Linked DNA regions of Homo sapiens: region 2 is linked to region 1. Evidence: promoter capture Hi-C in 16 types of primary human blood cells and fetal thymus (Javierre and others, 2016). All regions are on one chromosome and are shown on one strand. Each heading gives the region's core, a stretch centred on a gene start or on the middle of the fragment in contact. The rest is flanking DNA. Distances are from core to core; before and after follow the strand shown. Region 1 holds the start of RCAN3 (RCAN family member 3). Region 2 holds the start of MIR4425 (microRNA 4425).

What was found. The method cuts DNA at HindIII sites, captures the fragments that hold promoters and counts their contacts. A CHiCAGO score of 5 or more calls a contact.
Region 2: a fragment that was not itself captured here is called in contact with the fragment with the promoter of RCAN3 in region 1 in 1 of 17 cell types (naive CD4 T cells); the score reaches 5.9 in naive CD4 T cells.

What each region holds. Positions count from the first base shown.
Region 1 is chr1:24,499,860-24,505,969 of GRCh38, forward strand. RCAN3 (RCAN family member 3) reads left to right here and starts at 2,977. Exons shown (of 5, transcript NM_013441.4): 1 at 2,977-3,291. RCAN3AS (RCAN3 antisense RNA) reads right to left here and starts at 2,523. Exons shown (of 2, transcript NR_144360.1): 1 at 2,489-2,523. RefSeq lists an enhancer at 1,663-1,762 and silencers at 2,366-2,538, 2,820-3,319, 4,826-5,026. The HindIII fragment of the contact is 2,473 bases long and covers 1,768-4,240 here.
Region 2 is chr1:25,019,205-25,025,314 of GRCh38, forward strand. It overlaps MIR4425 (microRNA 4425), which reads left to right and starts at 4,299; the gene lies at 4,299-4,382. RefSeq lists enhancers at 19-88, 129-288, 246-1,142, 2,935-4,497, 3,397-3,926 and 4 more. The HindIII fragment of the contact is 809 bases long and covers 3,391-4,199 here.

The DNA of each region.
Region 1 (6,110 bases), core at 1,727-4,226:
AGTCCACGCGATTTGTGAGGAGCTGTCAGAATGTTCCATGCCCCTTCTCAGGAGAGTGGTTTAGTGATGCACGGGTAACACAAGTTAGACCAATGGGATGTAGTCCTGGGACTTTTGTTGACAGCATCAGGGAAAAGAAACTCCCTTTCTGCTGGAAAGGGTGTGATCTGAAATTGTAAGCAGCCATTCTGCCATCTCATGGGGAAAAGGAAGCCTAAGAACGCAAAGTCAACAGGAAATAGAGTCAAGAAATGGAGGCCGGGTGCGGTGGCTCACGCCTGTAATCCCAGCACTTTGGGAGGCCGAGGTGGGCAGATCACGAGGTCAGGAGATCGAGACCATCCTGGCTAACACGATGAAACCCCATCTCTACTAAAAATACAAAAAATTAGCCGGGCGTGGTGGCGGGCGCCTGTAGTCCCAGCTACTCGGGAGCCTGAAGCAGGAGAATAGCATGAACCTGGGAGGTGGAGCTTGCAGTGAGCCGAGATCGCGCCACTGCACTCCAGCCTGGGCGACAGAGCGAGACTCCGTCTCAAAAAAAAAAAAAAAAAATGGAGAGAAAAAACTTAATCCTAATGTCGTAGTTTAAGCCCCTGAATCCGGCCATGCCTGAAGCCCCAAACTTTTCTATTATGTGAGTCAATGCATTCCATTTGCTGCTTAACCCAGTCTGATTGATGTATTCCATGAAAAAAAGAGAATCTTGAATAATACTGGAAAATGCGAACCCCGTTCCCTGAACCATCATGTAGGATTGCTCACTTCTTCCTCTGCTTTGTCAGCACTTTGCAAATGTCTCAGTGCACAAATACAACTGTATCACAATCACTGTCTCCCCCATCTGTGAGCTCCTCAGGTGGCAGATCTCTATGGACCTTACCCTTGCAAGCCCAACACCCACACAGGGCCTAATACCTCAGGGAAACTAAATTAAGCTAATCTGGTTGTTTGACTTAGGATCTCTCAGGGCCATTTTTTTTGTGTGAACGTGCATCAGACATCTCCAGGCAGGGCTATGGAATGCAGCTGTTTCCAATCTCATTTGATGTGAAAACTCAATTTTTTGGCCAGGTGCAATGGCTCACGCCTATAATCCCAGCACTCTGGGAAGCCAAGGCAGGAGGATTGCTTGAGTTCAGGAGTTTGAGACCAGCCTGGGCAACATTGTGAAACCTTGTCTCTACAAAAAGTAGAAAAATTAGCCAGGCATGGTGGCATGTGCCTGTAGTCCCAACTACTCAGGAGGCTGAGATGGGAGGATCACTTGAGCCTGGATGGTTGAGGCTATGATTGTGCCACTGCACTCCAACCTAGGCAACAGAGCAGACCCATCTCAAAACAAACAAAAAAACACCAAAAAAAAAAAAAAAAACAACCCTCAATTTTTGCAAAAGTTGCTGTGTTAGAGGAATTTAGAGAAAAAATAATTACTATAGTCCTTAGAGTGACCTTGACAAAAGAAGCAGCTTGCCATCAATATTAGTTAAACGAATGAAAGTGAAGAACTTAGTTTAAGACAAGATGGGGAGCAGGAGCAGCACGGTTGGAGGCAGCAGGAACCACAGAAGCAGCAAGCAGGAAGTAGGAGGGGCGATCTGCTGGACATACCTCGGTGACTATGCTGGGCTCAACTGCTGGGGAGCCCTTGGGGTCATAATCCAACCCTGATTTCTTAGTTTACATCTAACAGGGATTAGATGTGCTGTACACATTTTAGTCCATCTTCCTGCCCCATGATGCAGGCGCTGAGTGCCTTTGATGTTAAGCTTCACTGTGCCTCACTTTGCCTCTGAAAGGTCTTGAGTGGGTAATGAGAGCTGATTTTCTTCTAACTGCACATTCCTTTTTTTTTTTTTTTTTGAGACGGAGTCTTGCTATGCTGTCCAGGCTGGTCTCAGACTCCTGGCCTCAACCGATCCTCCCACCTCTGCCTCCTGAGTTAGCTGGGACTACGGGTGCGCACCACTGCGTGACTGCGCGTCCTTGTAGGTGGGAGATGAGCCCAGTTATTTTCCCTGCTGTGTGACCCTGCTTCCTTCTCTGCCGGCTAAGGGAAGAGACACCAGCTGCCTTCCAAGTTGGGCTCAGGAGCTTTGTCATCATAGTTGTTATTGGTGGTAATAATACCTGCCAATGTAAGCCTCGGTCCTATCACTGAAACTCGCTCAACAGCTTAGACCCCGGCTCTTCCCTTTGCGTAATAGTTGTAATCATGTCCCATGGTCTCCTAAGGCGTCGGAGACAAGCAAGACTGCGTGGAAGGGTTTTTACACGAAAAAGAAAGCATTAAACATGTGGATTGTATGACAACGGTAGATAGGGCATAGGGTGAAGAGGAGTAAGAGGAGGAGGGAGAGCGGGAGGAGGGAGAAGAGCACGAGTGGGGAGGAGAGGAGGGGAGGGGATGGGAGGGGAGGGGAAGGAGTGGGTAAGGGGAAGAGGGTTGTACCCGCCAGGGCGGGACCCAGCCTGTGCCGTCCCACACCTTGTGCTAGCTCCAGCTCAGCTACCTGCGGCCGCCTCTCCTCGGGCAATGAGGCGCCGGGAAGCCCACAGCATCTGATAATATCCGGGCCGCCGGTTGCCGGGAGGTGAACCGAGGTAAACTCGCCGCGCGCGGGGCGCAGTGTACATAGTAACCAGCCCTGAGTAAACGTTCGTCATATTCCTATGAGCTGCTCCGGGGACTGTCCTACGGGGCTAGCAGGAAAAGGAGATCGGCTCTCTCCGCTCCCGGTGGAAAACGAGAAGGTCGCCAGAGGTCCTGTTTTCGGGGTGATCTAAAGCCCCCGCCCCAGCGCTACAGCCCAAGCCCCCCACAGGCTGGGGACCAGGAACCCGGAGGAGCGGGAGGAGGGCGCGCGCGGCGAGACACCCCCACCCCGGCCCCCGCGCGCCCCCGCCCCGGTCCCCGCCCGGGTCCCCGCCTTGTCCTGGGCTCTGGCGCCTGCGCCGCCGTGCGCGCGCCCTGCCAGAACAGGAGGGGACGAGGCGGGCGCGCGGCGCCGGCAGCCTAGCTCAGCCGGGACACCGCCCTAGTCCCAGCCCAGGGGGCCGCTCTCGCCGGCGTCGAGGGCGTGGCGGCGAGGCTGCTGCTGCAGGCGGCTCCCGGCTCTGCCTTCGGCCCCGCCCGCCGCCCACCAGGCTCCCAGAGGCCCCGCAGCTCGCGCCGTCCGGCTCCCCGCAGCCCCGTCGGGCAGCCCGGGCCCGTCCGCTGCCCTCCCGGCTCCCGTCCTGCGGCGGCGGGGCGTGCAGGTGAGGCCCCACGGCGCCCGGCCTCTCCAGCAGGTTTGCACCCAGCGCGGGGCGGGGCGGGGCGGGGCGGGTGGGGGGGGTGGTGCATGAAAAGTTAAAAAAAAAAAAAAAAAAAAAAAAGCCGCCCCGAGAAGTCCGGGAGGGGTGGGCACTCCGAGCCGCGGGACCGGGAGATGCTACCGCGCGCGACCTCGCCTCCCGCGACCTCGCCTCCCGCCGCACCCTTCTCGCGCGCGGGGTCTAGTCTGGCAGCCTCGAGGGTGGTGTCCCGGAAAACAAAACAAAAATGTTTTGTCTTCTCCACCAACGATTTTCTCCCACCAAGTGTGTTTGACCTTTTGAAAAGCCGACAGGCCCAGCCTGCCTGTGAAGGCAGGAGCGGTGTAGGGGCGCCTGGAAGGTGGAAGCCCCCTGTCTTTCTCCCTTGCCCCGCTTCCCCCACGGTGCGTGGATCACCATCGCATTAGTGACTCCCTAACTTCTTGAAACTTGTCTGTCTGCTTCTGTCCGCCGCCTGGACAGGTAGGGCAGGAGTGATCTGTTCCAGGTTGATTCTTCTAGCTTCCGTGCAAAATCTGATCATCTCCTTTAGAGATTAGGATTCTAGTGTAGGAAGCAATCCAGATCCGTGTTTCAGATACAAACAAGGATTATTTAAAGTGATGTTTTCCTGTAGTGCTGAAAGCCAAAAATATTCGCTTCCACTTGTTGGAAGCCACCAAGTACACCACATTTATTTGAACTTTTCATAGAAGTCTCTGATGTACTATTTGGCAAAAGAAGCAATTGATTTATCTGTAGCTGTGATTACATACGATGTAAAGTAATTTGTTTTAAGACTATTTCATTGGCTTTGGTTCAATATCTTAAACTCTGTAAACACATAATTCAGGAGCCAGATATGCATCACACAAATGTGTTCTTTTTGGTGGGGATTTAAATTGATCTAGAAATGGGCTTTCCATCCAGGAAGACTGTGAAAAGCTTGAAAACTGAGTCTCTTCTTTAGCCAGGTCATCAGCTTTACATTTTACTGCATTGGCAAGCCTTGCCTTTTCTTTTCTCTTCTCTTCTCTTTTCTTCTTTTTGAGACAAGGCCTCGCTCTGTCATCCAGCTGAAGTGCAGTGGTGCAAACACAGCTCACTGCAGCCTCAACTTCCCAGGATCAAGCGATCCTCCCACCTCTCAGCGTCCTGAGTAGCTGGGACTACAGATGCCGGCTAATTTTTTGTAGAGATTGGGTGTCACTATGTTGCCCAGGCTGTTCTTGAACTCCTGGGCTCAAGCCATCCGCCCACCTCTGCCTCCCAAAGTGCTGAGATTACAGGCATGAGCCACCGCACCCAGCCAAACCTTTTCTCTCTTAGCCTGAAAACAGATTTCAGTGCTTTTCTAGGAAACAAGATTTTTCCTGCTGTTGAAATATAACGTTTGTAAAGGTTTCAAACATGTGAACATTAGGTAACAGACAAGAGCAGATTTTATATGGTGTTAGAGTTGTTGGTTGAAGGACTTAAAGCATGAAAAATAGTGTGACGCGGAAATCCATTAGCCTGAAGCCTGTGAAATAATGGAAGCTCTAAAGTTCAACACCGTTTGTTACTTAGAAAAAAAACACAGAAGGTGGAGGTCGGACAGCAATCTCCACTTTTCCCCTAGAATGTAGAGGTTCTATCCAGGGAAAAGAAATTATACACAGCACAACAAATAGCATCAGTCTTATATATCTCAACTTCAGTTATTCTTTAAAACCTGTTGTTTTCATATGTTTTGTAGGCTGGTTTTTGTTGTTTATTTCTATCTGTCTCTTGCTGACAAATTCCTGGTGGAGTGGAACTTCAATTATAACAGGACCAATTCTAGGTTATCTGTGAAAACAAGACATGGGTCATTGAAACATACAAAATACAAAAATCAAATTTTCACCCGTTTTACTTTACTGTCGCACGAAATTTTTCTTACACACAGCTACTAAAAAATAGTACAGTTCTACCTGTAAGTGGTAAATGAGTAGAGAATAGAAGGTAGGGCTTCGTGATAGCCGTTCAGAACTTCGCATTGACGATCCTAAGTGGCTTTTTGTTGTTGCTTTGTTTTTTTTTTTCTCTTTTTTCTTTTTTTTTTTTTTTTTTTTTCTTTTTTTTGAGATCTCCTTCTGTTGCCCAGGCTGGAGTGCAGTGGTGCAAACACAGCTCACTGCAGCCTTGGCCTCCCAGGCTCAAGTATTCCTCCCACCACAGCCTTCTGAGTAGCTGGGACTACAGGCGTGCACCATGTGTTTTTTTGTAGAGACGGGGTTTTTCCATGTTGCCCGGGCTGGTCTCGAACTCTGGAGCTCTGGCAGCCCGCCTGCCTCCGCCTCCCAAAGTGCTGGGATTACAGGCATGAGCCACCACACCAGTCCAAGTGTTTTGTTTTGTTTAACTTAGTTGAAATTTTTAATTTAGAAATTTAAAAAAGGAACTTAGTAGCCCAAAGCACCTATGTTTATTTTATATATTTTATACACTTTATGTATTTTATCTTGTTCATTTTATAAATACAGAAAAACCAAGGGATTTTTCCCAAGGTTATACAGCAGGACACTTGTAGAGCTGATAATGGAGCACTTGTTTGCTTCCAGTATTGTTTGGTAGCATTTTTAACATACAAAAAAAGTGAAAAGTACATCTAGCTAAGATACTGAAATGTTCACCAAGTTGGGAAGCCTATTAATTTGAAAAATTATTATTATTTTAATCCTGGAGGAGAAAGAATTTGCGTTTTCCTGATCAGAACAGAAAATGCAAGATCCATGCCATGTGCTTGACATTTTGCCTTGATAGATGACTTTTGTCACAGGCCTGTTGTG
Region 2 (6,110 bases), core at 2,545-5,044, 520 kb after region 1:
GGAGACGCCAGGCCTGGCATTGCAAGAGGGGCTGAAAGCAGTGGTGGGAGAGAGGGCAGACAGGGAAATCTGGGCACTGTGTGCAGCCCCCAGATATGAGAGGAAGCCCCTGAGTGGAGAGTCATGAGACTTTGGAAGGGGCAGAAGGCTTTACTGAGGGGAGGGGCATCCAGGGAGGAGGGGCCTGGAAGTCCCCAGGGGCCACTCTGCAGGGGCTTCCCTGGGCCTGGTCTCTGTTTTACATAGTCTGGCACTCCCAGGCGGGCTCACAACTTGGAGTCCTGGTTGGGGAGAGGGAGTCAGGAGAGCAGGAGGCAACCTCCCATACCCGCCATACACCAATAATCAGACACCCTCACTCCGGACCAAGCCTGGACACCTGTGGGGTGAGCACACTCATAGCTATAGGCCCACAGACTGAGAAGTACATGCAAATGGCCACATGCCAGACCCATATGCAAAACACAGACCCAGACAGGCCATGCACAGACCCACATTTCCACACCGGGGCCAGACCCGCATGCAGGAGTGTGCAGGCATGTGGATGCGTGCACACACACTCCCGCACATACATGCCTGCACACACACACACCTGCACACATACACATGCCTGCACACACACACACCCCTGCACACATGCATACATGCCCACACACACACACCTACATGCCTGTGCACACACACACCTGCACACACGCATACATGCCTGGACACACACGTACATGCCCGGACACACACATGCCTGCACACACACCTGCGCGCACACACACCTGCACACACACATACATGCCTGCACACGCACACATACATGCCTGCACACACACATTCACATACATGCCCACACACACATGCACACACATACCTACCTGCATACACACACCTACACACACATACATGCCTGCACACACACATTCACATACATGCCTACACACATGCATACACACATACATTCTTGCATGCACACATCTGCACACACATACATACCTGCACACACATATTCACATACATGCCTACACACACGTGCACACACATACATGCCTGCACATACACATGCACATGCATGCCTACACACATGGGTGCACACAAACGTGAGCACACACATGTGCTGAACAAGGCCCCAGGAAGCCTCCAGCACAGGCCAAGAGAACGGCTCCCTCTACACTCGTTTATTCACTCCACAAACCAACTGAGCACCTACCAATGTCAGGCACAACCCCTGCCCCTGGAACTCACACTCTAGTGAGAAAAATGTCAATCACGCCTATCGAAATAATGACTATTCCTCACACATTCACGAGATTTTGCTCATTTAACCCTCAAAGCAGCCCTCTGGAGTCGGGGGGTCTCTGCTGCACAGATGAGAAAATGGGGTTCTGAGAGGCGTGGCACCATGCCCTGCTCGAAGCTCCAGAGCCGGCGATTGGCAGCCCCACTCAGATGGGTCTGGGGAGGGCTCTCTACTTCCTCTCGGTGACTTCTGTCTCCCCTGCCCTCTGCAAAAGCGGAGGCTGTGGGGATGTGGCCCCTGGCGCTAGGAGCAGGCCTGCTGAGGGGCCTGGCTGCTCCCTCTAGCCCCACTGTGGCCCTGGACAAGCCTTTCTCTTCCCACCCCTGCTGCCCATTGCACAGAAGCAGACATGGAGTCTGAGAGGACAGTGGCCTCGTGAGGTGGCCGAGCTGGGCACTGCGTTAGAGACAGGGAGGGGGCAGCTTCTGCCACCCACATCCCCAGATCAGTCGGTCCATGAGTCCTCACTGAGCCTGGTCCTGGCTGGATGCTCTGCCAGGCACACAGGGACAGCCCAGCCCAGGGCCTCCATGTTGCTTCCCACGCTACCAGGCCCGGGAGCACCAAACTCCTCGAGTACCAGGAAGCGAGCCCGCACACACCTTAGCTGCAGGTCCTAGCACCCCCGCCTTTCCCAGCCTCATACTCTCTGGACAGACAAGAGACTCCCCCTCACCCCAGGACCTACAGCCTACGGAGGCCTGGAGCCACCCAGCCTGGGCCGCAGGGACCTCAGGGAGGGTGCAGACGGGGGACGGAGGGCACAGGCCAGGGCCCTAACACCAGGCAGAGCCGTCCACAGTGGGATCGCCCACCTCGTTGGCTGCCTGGAGCATGGCCACCCTGTCCTGCATGTGAACTCGGGAGTGGGGAGAGCAGAGAGAGGCGGGGGCCGTCATTCAGCCTCTTGGAACTATTCTTGTCAGTGCCTCGTTCCTGGAAGCCTCTTTGGGCTGGGCCCTGTGTACAGGCAGAGGTTGGTGTGGGAGGGGAAGGCTGGGGTGTGTGTCTCTCACTGGAAGCCCTTGGAAAACCCCTCCCCTCCTTCGGGGCAGCCCCTGCCCTCAATTTGCTTACAGTCTGTTCCAAGCTTCTCAATCCATCAGATCAACTAGAGGAACTTTATAAAATGCAGGTTCCTGGGCTCCTTCCCAGTCTGCTGAATCCTAATCTCAGGGCTGGAGCCCTGGAATCTGTATTTTTTCAAAGCCTCGAGACCTGGATGAGAAGGCAGCACTGAGATCCCCTGGCCCAGGTTCTGGCGACTGCTCATGATTATTTTTTGGACCCCGTCGGTGGGATGCTGTCTTATTTAATCCCATGTCCCTGCAAAGGATCCAGTAGATGCCAAATGAATGTTTGCTGGCAGTACTGGTGGGTTGGGCAGGGTATGGACTCACCTAGAGGTATGCCTGGACCTCCCCCGGCCTGCTGTGTGACCTTGGACAAATCACTGCCCTCTCTGGGCCTTGGCTTAGAGGGTCTCCAAAGGCAGATATTTAGTGAGCCACTGATGGTCACCAAGGGCTGCCCGAACATCCAGGAGGTGATCTTACTCCCAGCGTGGGAGGGAACCAGACTGGCCTCCAAGGCATCTCTGGGATTCCCTTAGTTTGCCTTCTGAAAAATGGGCCCGGGCCATGGAGGCATCCTGAACTGCACTGCTCTCGCATGGACAACAGAGAGGGCATTCTTCCACACCTAAGGGAAAGAATATTTACCAACCCCTGGGGCCGCCCCTGAACCCTGGCCTAGGCCTGAGGGCTGAGCTGAGGGGTTATGAGGACCCCTGGCCTCTCCCTTGCCCCTCCCCCTCCTACCCCACCCCCACCCCCTGCTGTGGGCGAGGAGCAGGTGCCTGGCTTCCACTTCTTAGAATCCCTGTGAGGCCCTGGGGTGGGGGTGAGCTCATTTACGGGAAGGGGGGGATGGGGGGCTCTCTTCTCACCCGGCCCTGCTGGAGGCGGGGGGGGACAGCAAGTGCGTAAGCAGCCCCAGCTCCCGGCCTGCCTCCGGAAATGCCGCCCAGGGCTCAGTCACGAACCTAGCCAGGCAGGGGGGCACAGCCAGAGCACTCAGGGGTGTCAGGTGACCTGCGAGGAAGCTTGGCTGGGGGCCTAGAGGCTGCACCGGGGTGCACAGTGAGGTCAACTTCCCCCTTCCTGGGCCTGCACCCTGACACAGGGGTGTGCACCCCACGGCCCAGCTGGATGTGTCTCCTGCTGTCTGCCTATCTGTCTGCTGTGCCCTGGCCCACCGTGGGCTCTGGGCCTCTGCTGGGCTCCCCTGGCACCCATGGGGCCTGAGTTCTCATCAACAACCTGCTTCAAGGGGTGCGTGTCAGGGTCCTGGGGTATGGGGGAGACCCCAGCCAGGTCCTGGTGCGGACAGCCCTGCTTCCCTACCCCCTCTCCCCTTCCCTCCCTCCTCCACTTCTCTCTGCAGCTATTTAAAGCAAGTGGTGGCGTGGGAAACTTCTTCAGATGTGTGGTTTCATCTTCTTCAGCACAGGGACGGGGCGTCTGCTCGCTCTGGTGACTCATCCAGAGTGAGAAAAGCCTTTTTGTTGTTTGATGCTCGCTGGAGGCTCTGTAGCCTGAGAACCTGGCCCGATGGGGCCTTCCCTGCTGAGACTCCTGGGAGGCCTTGGGAGTGCCCAGGGCAGCCCTTTTGTTCCATCCCCAGACCCAGGGAGCCCGGGACCAGTGGAGCCCCTGAAGCTGAAATACTCTGCTTAGAGTGAGCCTTCCTGACTGGTGGGTGGGGCAGGGGTGGCCATTCTCAACACCCAGCTCAGCCACCACCTCCTCCAAGAAGCCTCCCTGATTCCTCCAAAACCTCAGTCGATCTCCACCTTATTCAGTCCTCTAACCCTCAGTCTTCTTATCTATGAAATGGAGCAGTGGGTCCAAGCTTCACAGATCTGTGTGAAGATAAACTGCGGAACACACACAGATGCTCAGTAGGTGAGATTCGTGGTAAGATTTATTGAGCATTTATTGTGTGCTAAGTGCTTTACATGAATGGTCCCATTGAATCCCAACAGCTTTGCGAAGTGTTGTTGGGATTCAGCAGGACCATTCGTGTAAAGTAATATTCCCATTTTACAGATGAAGAAACTGAAGGATGGGGAGGGGGTCAAGTAATTTATACATTGTCTCATAGTTAGTAAGCAGCAAAGTGAGATTCAAACCTAGGCCATGTGATGCCAGAGCCCCAGCCTTTAGCCACTGTGCCAACCTGTCCCTGGCAAACGTAACTAATAAGGATTTGGACTCAAGGCTATAAAGGGCATGCCCCTTCTGTTCAGAGGCTTTGCACATGCTCTTCCCCTGCCTGAAGCACTGACCCTTCCCCAATTGCCTGACTATATCCTCCCCAAGGCTCAGAGATGGGCTGGAAGGTCACTTCCTCCAGGAACTTTCCAGGATTGTCTCTGTCAGGTACCCTGGTGACGCACAGCGAGTCTCTGTGTACTCACTACCACGGCAGCTAAATCACTGTTTCCGCCTGTGTCCTCACCCAGACTGTGAGTGTCCCCAGGGTAGAGATGGGTCTGGCCTCCCATTGCCCCATCCCCACGGCAAGCACAGTCTCTGGCACACAGTAGGTCCCCAAGGTTTGTGGACTGAATAAGTACCACCAAGGTGGCCAGAGGCTGGGAGAAGCCTGGAGCACCAATGGCCATGAAAATTTTCCAGAAGCTTCTCTGTCATTATACAGAAATCCCTTTGATGCCCCCTGGAGAACACAGGCCTTGAAACTGCTGCCTGATGAGGGTTTGGGGGAGACAGGCGGTCTCAGAGTAGCCTACTCTCCCAGGGCAGCTGTGCCACGGGCTATTGGAGATCCCGGGCTATTTGTGATGGCCTTGGAGCATTATGGGAGCAGGGAGGAAGGTCCCCTGTCCTGCTGCCACTCTCTGCTACCCTGAAGTCCCGTAAGAAAGGACCACTCAGCTCCATCCTTGGGAGTCGAAAGATCACCAGGGCCAGAGAGAGGTTCTGGGAAGAGGTGGGCACAGAGAGTCTTGGGGGTCCAGGGTCTTGGAGGAGCTGGGGTCCCTTGAGTGATGGACTTCAAAGTGAGGCTGGGCTGCCCCCATTGAAGGAACAGCAGCCGCCATCTAGAGATGTCCAGTGAGTGCCTCGAGCACTGCCATTGATGCAGACAGCTGTGGCCTCAGACCTGGATCCTGGCAGCAGAGGCCATCAGTGGACCACAGCGTGCTTCCCAGTGGCCATGCCAGGGTGGGTGGGGAGCAGCTTATCTGACCACAGACCAGCCATGCCAGCAAAGGCGCTGCCGTTTCTGCCCACATAAGGGCTACAGTGGCTGCAGCAGCCACGCCAACAGGGGCAATGCAGTGTTCAGGGGGTGCAGCCAGGCCAGCAAGGGGGGAAAGGATAGATGACCACGGAAGAAGCCACAGCAGCAGCCACGCCAGGTAGGAATCATGCAGAGGAGCAGGGGCACACCAAGCAGCAGTGCAGCTGGCCTTGGAAACAAATACTGCCTTCTGACATCAAATGCTCTGAGGACGGTTGAGGGGCTTGGGCTTCGGTGCCCACCACCTGCCATCACTGCTGCCTCTTCTGTGGGGTTCTCCTGGTTGCCCTAGAGGCCTAGCAAGAGGCAGCACGGGCCAGGGAGGCACGAGGGGGAAACTGAGGGCAGGAAGCCAAAGGATGGCAAGAGAGAGGCTGGGCCGCTGCACGGGGCCTGGGGGGAGTGGGGAGAAGGAGGGCCACCCTGGACACCGGTGTCCTCAGACTGCTTCTCATGCCCTCCTCCTCCCTCCAGGGCTTACCCTGCCTGTGAG